Linked DNA regions of Homo sapiens: region 1 is linked to region 2. The links are contacts of gene promoters, found by promoter capture Hi-C in blood cells and fetal thymus (Javierre and others, 2016). All regions are on one chromosome and are shown on one strand. The core of a region is centred on a gene start or on the middle of the fragment in contact, and the rest is flanking DNA. Distances in the headings are between cores, read along the strand shown.

Evidence for each region. Contacts are between HindIII fragments. The CHiCAGO score rates a contact against its expected background, and 5 or more counts as called.
Region 1: a contact is called between a fragment that was not itself captured here and the fragment with the promoter of RPS29 in region 2, in 1 of 17 cell types (fetal thymus). The highest score is 5.6, in fetal thymus.

The regions. Positions count from the first base shown.
Region 1 is chr14:50,777,556-50,781,864 of GRCh38, forward strand. NIN (ninein) reads right to left here. Exons shown (of 31, transcript NM_020921.4): 6 at 1,210-1,249. Among named protein-coding and RNA genes, the nearest start is that of NIN, 51 kb to the right of the region's middle. The HindIII fragment of the contact is 4,250 bases long and covers 1-4,131 here.
Region 2 is chr14:49,584,426-49,588,423 of GRCh38, forward strand. It overlaps RPS29 (ribosomal protein S29), which reads right to left and starts at 1,955. Exons shown (of 3, transcript NM_001032.5): 1 at 1,860-1,955; 2 at 1,525-1,624. The coding sequence starts at 1,921. It also overlaps RN7SL1. RefSeq lists enhancers at 986-1,035, 1,634-2,133, 2,006-2,515. The HindIII fragment of the contact is 6,928 bases long and covers 1-2,991 here.

The DNA.
Region 1 (4,309 bases), core at 757-3,256, 1.2 Mb after region 2:
TAAGTACTACAGCATCTTTTACTGAAAAGAAAATAATTTCATGATAAAAGTCTCAACATTAGCCTGTTCCCAAATCCTTACATATGAATATTCTGACATACAGAAACCAACAGTCCAACTGAAATTAAAAAAAAAAAATCAATGGTTGCAAGCTATAAGTTCCCAGTTATCTATACATTAAATTTCATTTGAAGACTTAAGGATCAAACTACTTATTTAAAAATCAAAACTTCTTATTTATTCTCTATTAAAAGCCCTCACTTCTAAATTTTGCTTTACACATTAGAGATTCTGTAAAGTCATTACTTAAACATGAGATAATTACTGGCACAATTTTGTGTGCTTGGAAGAACCTCAGAGGGTTGAAAGCAGTATTTAGTGCTACTCCCACTCTTTAGTGACAGGAATTAAGCCCATTACTGCTGTGGCGTTTCAACCTAGAGAACAGGTTGTAATTACACTTAAGTACAGTTAATCCACAGAGGGCTGTGAAGTGGGCTGAGGTTCTGTTAGCTGAACCACAGTGCCATCTGGTGGCCAGAGGATCAACGTGTTCTGATGCTTCTTAAATACATTTGAAACTTGTCAAGGGATGCATTTTTAAATTAATTAATTAATTTATATTGTTATTTTTATTTTTTGAGACAGAGTCTCTTCTGTTATCCAAGCAGGAGTGCAGTGGCACAATCACGGCTCACTACAGCCTCCAACTCTCGGGCTTAATGGATTCTCCCACCTCAGCCTTCTGAGTAGCTGGGACGACAGGCATGTGCTACCACACCTGGCTATTTTTAGTAGAGACGGGGTATGCCATGTTGCCCAGGCTGGTCATGAACTACTGCGTTCCAGTAATCCTCCTGCCTTGGCCTCCCAAAGTGCTGGGATTACAGGCGTGAGCCACTGTACCTGGCCAAGGGATGCACTTTAATAGGTCACTATTTAAGACTGTTAGAAAATTAATCTGAAAGTCTGTATAAGAGAGAAATTAGCCCGTAAGTAAAATTATATATCTTAGTTACCATCTCTTGCATGATACTAAATGCTAGGATTTTAAAACTAAAAGCTATCAATTGGGAATAAATTTTTTGTTGCTGTTGTTCTTAATGTTAATTCCCCTGGCCTGCAGCATAAGAGATCAGAAAGACCGGGTGTGGAGAGCACCCGGCGGCCCTTCCCTTCCAGGCACGTCCTGACACACTCGGCTCTTACCTTCCGCTTCATACTCCTCACTGCGTTGCGTCTTCCAGTGCTAGAGAAGGCAAGAGAAGATTAGTGTGCTTTAGAACTTATTCAGAAAGAACTATCCTAGCTTTTCCTAGAGCAGATCACTCTCTGGCTCTGAAATCATCATCTAAGTGAGTCACATAATTTCAGGACTCTCTAGTGTATCCATCTAGATGAGTTCTCTTCAGTTAACCAGCCAATCAGGACGAGACTCCTAAGAAACACCACACAGCCTTCTGCAGCATTTCACCAAGGATTTGTCCTCATTTGCTAGGTCACTTATTCAACAGCAAAACCTATCACAACCAATTAAACCCAGCCAAAGCAAATATCCAGTATCCATCAACCAACAAGTATCTGTACACATGCATTTATGAATTTATTCTTCAATAAATGTGTACTGAGTGCTTCTCTTTGTGCTAGGTACTGTGCTAGGTCTTGGTAATACAACCATGAACAACCATGAACAGGACAAACATATTTCCTGCCCCAAGAAGTTTATATGCTAATGAAGACATGCAGACAAGAAAACAGGAAATACAACAGGGTAGTATTTTAAGTGCTATGACAAGGAAGTTCAGGATGCTATGTTGCTATGCAGATGGGATACTTTAGACTTGTTAGATCGGGAAGAAGCAATGTCTAAACTGAGACCTGAAGGATAAACTGCAGAGAGCCAAATGAAAAGAAGGGGGCAGGCTGGGCACAGTGGCTTGCGCCTGTAATCCCAGCACTTTGGGAGGCCGAGGTGGGCGGATCACGAGGTCAGGAGATCGAGACCATCCTGGCCAACACAATGAAACCCCATCTCTACCAAAAATACAAAAAATTAGCCAGGCGAGGTGGCGGGTGCCTGTAGTCCCAGCTACTCGGGAGGCTGAGGCAGGAGAATGGCGTGAACCCGGGAGGCGGAGCTTGCAGTAAGCCGAGATCGCGCCACTGCACTCCAGCCTGGGCAACAGAGCGAGACTCCGTCTCAAAAAAAAAAAAAGAAAAGAAAAGAAGGGGGGCAGTTGTTATCTGCTGAAGCAAGGAGGCAAGAATGAGCCTAGTGTATCTGTGGCATAGTGAGGAGAGAGATGCAACTTAAAATAAGTAGGCTAGAGAAAGTATAAAATGTACATTACCAGTAAATTACATTAAAGGCAGTTCAATTTATCTGAATTGGACCATTTTGCCACCTTATCAGGCTTCATTACTCCTGCCTCTTCTCCAAAGTCACAGCATACAGTTGTAATTTGTGTACTGCATAAAAGTGCCCCGCTAAGAGCACAGGTCAGGACCGAAATCCAGCCCTTGCTCCACTGCCCGGGGATAGTACAGGTCGTCTTTTGACCAGTTGCAACAAGTAGGTCCACAGTGGCTGTGGCTTCCAGCAAATGGCTTTAGCCTCTCCAGCAAACTGCCTAAAACTAATCACTGTTATGGGGGGTTACTACAACCATCAAAGAAAACCCTGTTAGAAAAGGTGAATCGCCCTTTCCAAACGGGGCTGCTGTCATAGCAGTGATCCAGCTTTATGAATGAAGCTGCCTTTGATAACAAATAACCAGCACGTTTTCTGGGTAGCTGACCTGTACAAGACTAGTTGATTGCTTAGAATCCGAAAATAAACTCGACAGGAAAGTCAGCCTAATTAATACCTGTCTCTAGAACTTGGATTCCTCATGACAGATGGTATGGCACGTAAAATTTTTAGATGAAATGTTGTTTTTCAGTAGTTCATTCAAGTTAATACGAGTTGAAGTTCTTCTTTCAGGCAACCTACGCTCATCTACTTTATTCTCCACACTCACTAGTGGTAGTTCTCACCTCTTAAATGAGGGCCAACCACCTACCACAGTTTCACAGGTCCATGTTAGATATTTAAGATAGTATCAATTCAGAGAGTTCATTTAATTTGGCCATACCAAGCTGACAATGCTGAGATGGGTTGTTGCTGACAAATGGAAGACACCAAAAGGCCATAACTCAAAATGTTTAAGTTCACTACAATTCATGCAGATTACAATGGAAAGTCACTAATAAACATGGCATCAATGAAAAGTGAATTAGGACGTGTGATTTTTGCTTGTGATAACAATTTCATCAGCTCACTCAGCCTACATTTCTACATAAAGACGTCTCTCCAATCTAGTGGATGTCTGAGGCATGGTGGGGATGGGGAGCAAGTGGTAAAGTCAACAGTCCTTCATAAATTTTCTTACATTCTCATTTCTGGTCAGAATTGTTTTCACATAAGAAATTTTAAATCAACAAAACCATCCTGCCTGTCTGTCCCTCCACATTTATTTTCCTGTTCAACAGAGCAGACAATTTAAATGCTCATACTACTTCGGCATCCAAAATTATGAAAATTCATTATTTAGCATACCAGTTGGAAACACCCCAGAACTAAATCCACTAATTCCACCTATGACAAATAAAATAGGGTTTTATGGTCTCAGAACCATTGGTAGAAACCTACCAAATCTCAAGCAGGGGATGATTTCTAACAGCAGAAATGAATGGGAGAAATGGCAGGAGAATATGTTATCACTGGCCCCAAACCATAAAGAGAGTCCCAGTTGGAATATACAGCTGTAAAAATGCAACACACACACCTTCAAAAAATCCTCGTCATTACTAAAGCACTGGCTCATTTACTTCTCAGTTCATTTGAAAATAGTGAGCACAGAATTCAAAGAAGCAAGATGCTCCAATATACTGTTTCCAACATCTTATGAGTCTATGAGACTGGGTGCCTATGTCTGATTCACTCTCTGGGACAGTACTTCCCTGCTGCCTTCTTCCCTGGATTCTTACTCCTAACTAATAAAGGATCGAGTATGGAGGCCACTGCATAGACTTAGGAGGCAGAGTGCCTGGTGCTGAATCATGGCTTCCCTACCAGGTTGGCCTTAGGCAAGCTTCTGACGACTTCTGCCTCAGGTTCTCTGCCTATAAAATGGGAACAAGGTAGTGCATATTTCATGGAGTTATGGTAAAGTGCTTAGAATTGTGCCTGGCACATAGTAAGCTCTACACAATTTTGTTATTTTTATTGGACATATGTTTACATGATACATGTGGAATTTATTTTAAT
Region 2 (3,998 bases), core at 705-3,204:
AAACGTACTTTCTCTGTCCCTGCTGCACTGCAGTATTCATATTAACAATTTACAACAGACAGGGCGCCGTGGATCACGCCTGTAATCCCAGCACTCTGAGGGGTCAAGGCAGGCCCATCTCCTGAGGTCAGGACCTCAAGACCAGCTTGGCCAACATGGTGAAATCCCATCTCCACAAAATAATAAAAATAGGCCGGGCGTGGTGGCAGACGCCTGTAATCCCAGGTACTAGGGAGGCTGAGACAGGAGAATCGCTTGAATCCGGGAGGGGGAGGCTAGTGAGCTGAGATCACGCCACTGCACTCCAGCCTGGGAAACAGAGGGAGACCCAATTTCAAAACAAAAAAAAAAATTTACATCATTATAGAACAGTACTATCCAATACAAAATAATTGATCAGAAAGCTGGTGATTTTTATCTCAAAGAGCCAATAATAAATTCGTTTTCACCTTAAAAAAAAAAACCCAAACTACTATTTAAAAGATTTTCAGAAGCCAAAAGTTTCACAGTCAAAAGTTTCATATAAACACTAGCTTGACTAAGATGATCAAGAGATAGAAGCACTAAATGGCAGACCATTGTTTGCTGAATCTTAACAATGTCTTTCCGGCCCCAAACTTTAAGTTCATTCCAGTGTATGACGCTTTCAAACATTTTGGGTTGGCCGGGCGCGGTGGCTCACGCCTGTAATCTCAGCACTTTGGGAGGCCGAAGCAGGCGGATCACGAGGTCAGCAGTTCGAGACCAGCCTGACCAACATGGTAAAACCCCGTCTCTACTAAAAATAAAAAAATTAGCCGGACATGGTGGCAGGCGCCTGTAATCCCAGCTATTCAGGAGGCTGAGGCAGGAGAATCGCTTGAACCGGGGAGGCGGAGGTTGCACTGAGCGGAGATCACGCCATCGCACTCCAGGTTGGGTGAGTGCGACTCCGACTCAAAAAAAAAAAAAAAAAAACTTGGGGTCAGCGGTTAATACATATATTTGGTTAGAAAATATCTAGGTACAGCCGCGCGTGGTGGCAAGAGCCTTTAGTCCCAGCTACTCGGGACGCCAAGGCAAGAGGATCGCCTGAGACCAGGAGGAGTTCGAGGCTGCAGTGAGCCGTAACAACGCCACTGCACTTCAACCTGGGCGACAGAGGGAGACCCTATCTCTAAAAAAAAAAAAAAGAGAATAGGTACTTACAAGATTGATAAATGAAACAAATGTAAAACAATTTTAGTGGCTTCTCTAAAGTGAATTTCACCAAACACAATACACGGCACCTAAAACTGGCTAAGCTATCTAGGTAAAAAAGGGAGTAGGAAAGACTAAGTCCTTCACCTTCTCCATTCTATTAATTTGATTGCCCAAACCATCAACACTGTCACCAGCTACCAACTAAAAAAAGAGGAAAAGCTCTTGGTCGAATGCTCAGAATTACCACTCCAGGGAAGATCTGTCCGTTTGTCTTTCGCGGAAAAAATAACCCCCACAACCTTCTCTGCCCAAACAACATGGAGTACGCCTGCAGACGCCTACCTTAATGAAACCGATATCCTTCGCGTACTGACGGAAACACTGGCGGCACATATTGAGGCCATATTTCCGGATCAGACCGTGCCGGTTTGAACAGACACGACTGTAAGAAAAGAGACAGCGGTTTTGCAGGTCATAGAAATTACAAGACTCCGCACTCAGACGGCTACTACCCGCATCCCGGGACTCCCAAGCCACAGTACAGGCCTGTAATGGCGGCACCAGCGACTCCCAGTCGGCGTGCTCCCTCGTGCCGCCCGTGGCCTCCTCTACTTGAGATTTTAAGCAGCCTAGCGCTCCACGGCAACGCTTCCCCAAAATCACAAACTATTTCTCACCAAGAGCGAGAACCCTGGCCGAATTTTCGCGGGTGGCTCCAGTACAGCTGCTGGTGACCCATCTTGCTCTCAGCAGTGCAACGAGGTAAAAGGAAGAAGCTGGCCCACGCATGCGCTCTTCAAATTTTTGAGACAGTTTACCCAGAATGCAGTGCTCAAAGGAAACGCGTGCGCAGTGTGGTCAGGTTGTTTCGCTGGGTGAGTAAAATGAAATCTTAGAGGCGTTGTGGGCTGGCCCAGTTGATGACGTCACCATACCACAGCTTCTAGTGCTATTCTGCGCCGGTATCCGACCGCCGGGCGCGGTGGCGCGTGCCTGTAGTCCCAGCTACTCGGGAGGCTGAGGCTGGAGGATCGCTTGAGTCCAGGAGTTCTGGGCTGTAGTGCGCTATGCCGATCGGGTGTCCGCACTAAGTTCGGCATCAATATGGTGACCTCCCGGGAGCGGGGGACCACCAGGTTGCCTAAGGAGGGGTGAACCGGCCCAGGTCGGAAACGGAGCAGGTCAAAACTCCCGTGCTGATCAGTAGTGGGATCGCGCCTGTGAATAGCCACTGCACTCCAGCCTGGGCAACATAGCGAGACCCCGTCTCTTTTGAACAATAAATACGTTAATTTTGGACTCTCAAGAGATGAATATTCTCATAGTCTTTTTTATTGATTAAACCTTTTACTTTCTTTTAATTAAAACGTTACACTTGGGAAAGGAGTTTTTCCTCGACTCACCAGTGACACCTACTGGAATAAATTTACAAAACAACTTAAAATCAGCTGTAATGATCACGAGTCAACGGTAGGGTTTGCTTTTATTTTGTTAAAGAGAGTACGTTTTCAAATTTATTTTTTTGACACACTCCTCCAAGAAATACACCTACACCATTCCAAAAAAAAATGAGATTCTTTGGCATTTAGTGTATTTGATTCTTAAATGTAATTGGCTGAATGTAAAGTAATAAACAAGTAATGTGCAGTGTATGTTGCTTTGACCAGATAATTTGGTGACAAAACAAGTAATGAAAAGCAAATGCAAAAATGCAAAAAACCAATGTCAATAAACGAATTTCTGCTGAAAGATACCTACATTCCATATGGTCATTTATAATGCCTCCAGATAAAACTGCTCTGAAATCAAAGCTTTAACTAGATTTATAAAATGTAGCACAGGGTGCAACAATTCCAGAAACTTTTACATATAAACTTTTATAAATTGAAATACAACACTTCTTTAAGGTATGTTATGTCAGGGTTCTAGTGGGGTCCCCCTACCCAATCATTAAGTTAGGCATTGTATTATATGATTAAGGAAGGAGGGGAGTCAGAGATTTGTAAACTAGATATAACTTGCTCCTTGCCCTCAAAATTTTCTAATCTGTGGGAAACAGGATTATCTCCAAGACTTCAACATACAACGTTTGTGCACCAACAACATATGTACAGCTAAGGAAAATATTCTGTATTAAATCATGGGTGTGCTCATGAAGTACGAAAGGAGCCAAGAAGAGAAATTAATTCCAGTTCGAGGTACATTTGAGAGACCTTTGAGGTAGACCTTGAAGAATGGGATTTCTACAGGCAGCACTTGACAGAAGGGAATGCCTGGTGAAAGGAAGCGCTTGAGCCAAGGTAAGGTGAACAACTTTGTGTAACTAGAATAGAAGATGGACAAAAGGCCTAGTGATAGGAATGAAAAGGTATTTTATTTTAAAGCCTCATTGGGCAAGATCCAATGTCAAGCTTTTACAACTTTCCTATAATTTATATCAGTCACTAATGTGTGGTTTCCAAAAGCCATTTGCCTCTCAAAAGCTAATCTAACATTTGTCCACACTTTCTTAGGCCTCTTCTAGTTGGTCTCCACAATATTTAAAACATTACAGTGGTTCTGAGATCAATTCCATTAATATTTTTAGTACTCTGATATATAAGCCTTTGGGCCTAAAGAAGTGAATTCATTTAGGAGAGAAAAAAAGACAAATGAGAAGCAATTAGTTGCACTTCAACAATCTTAATCTGAATACTTAAGTAATTCTTAATACTTATTCTAGTCTATACATTATTCTCTTTGATAGAGATATTGCAAAAGTGCAGCTAAGACGTCGTACTTCCTTTCAGTTTTAAGATAATGTGACACCATCTATC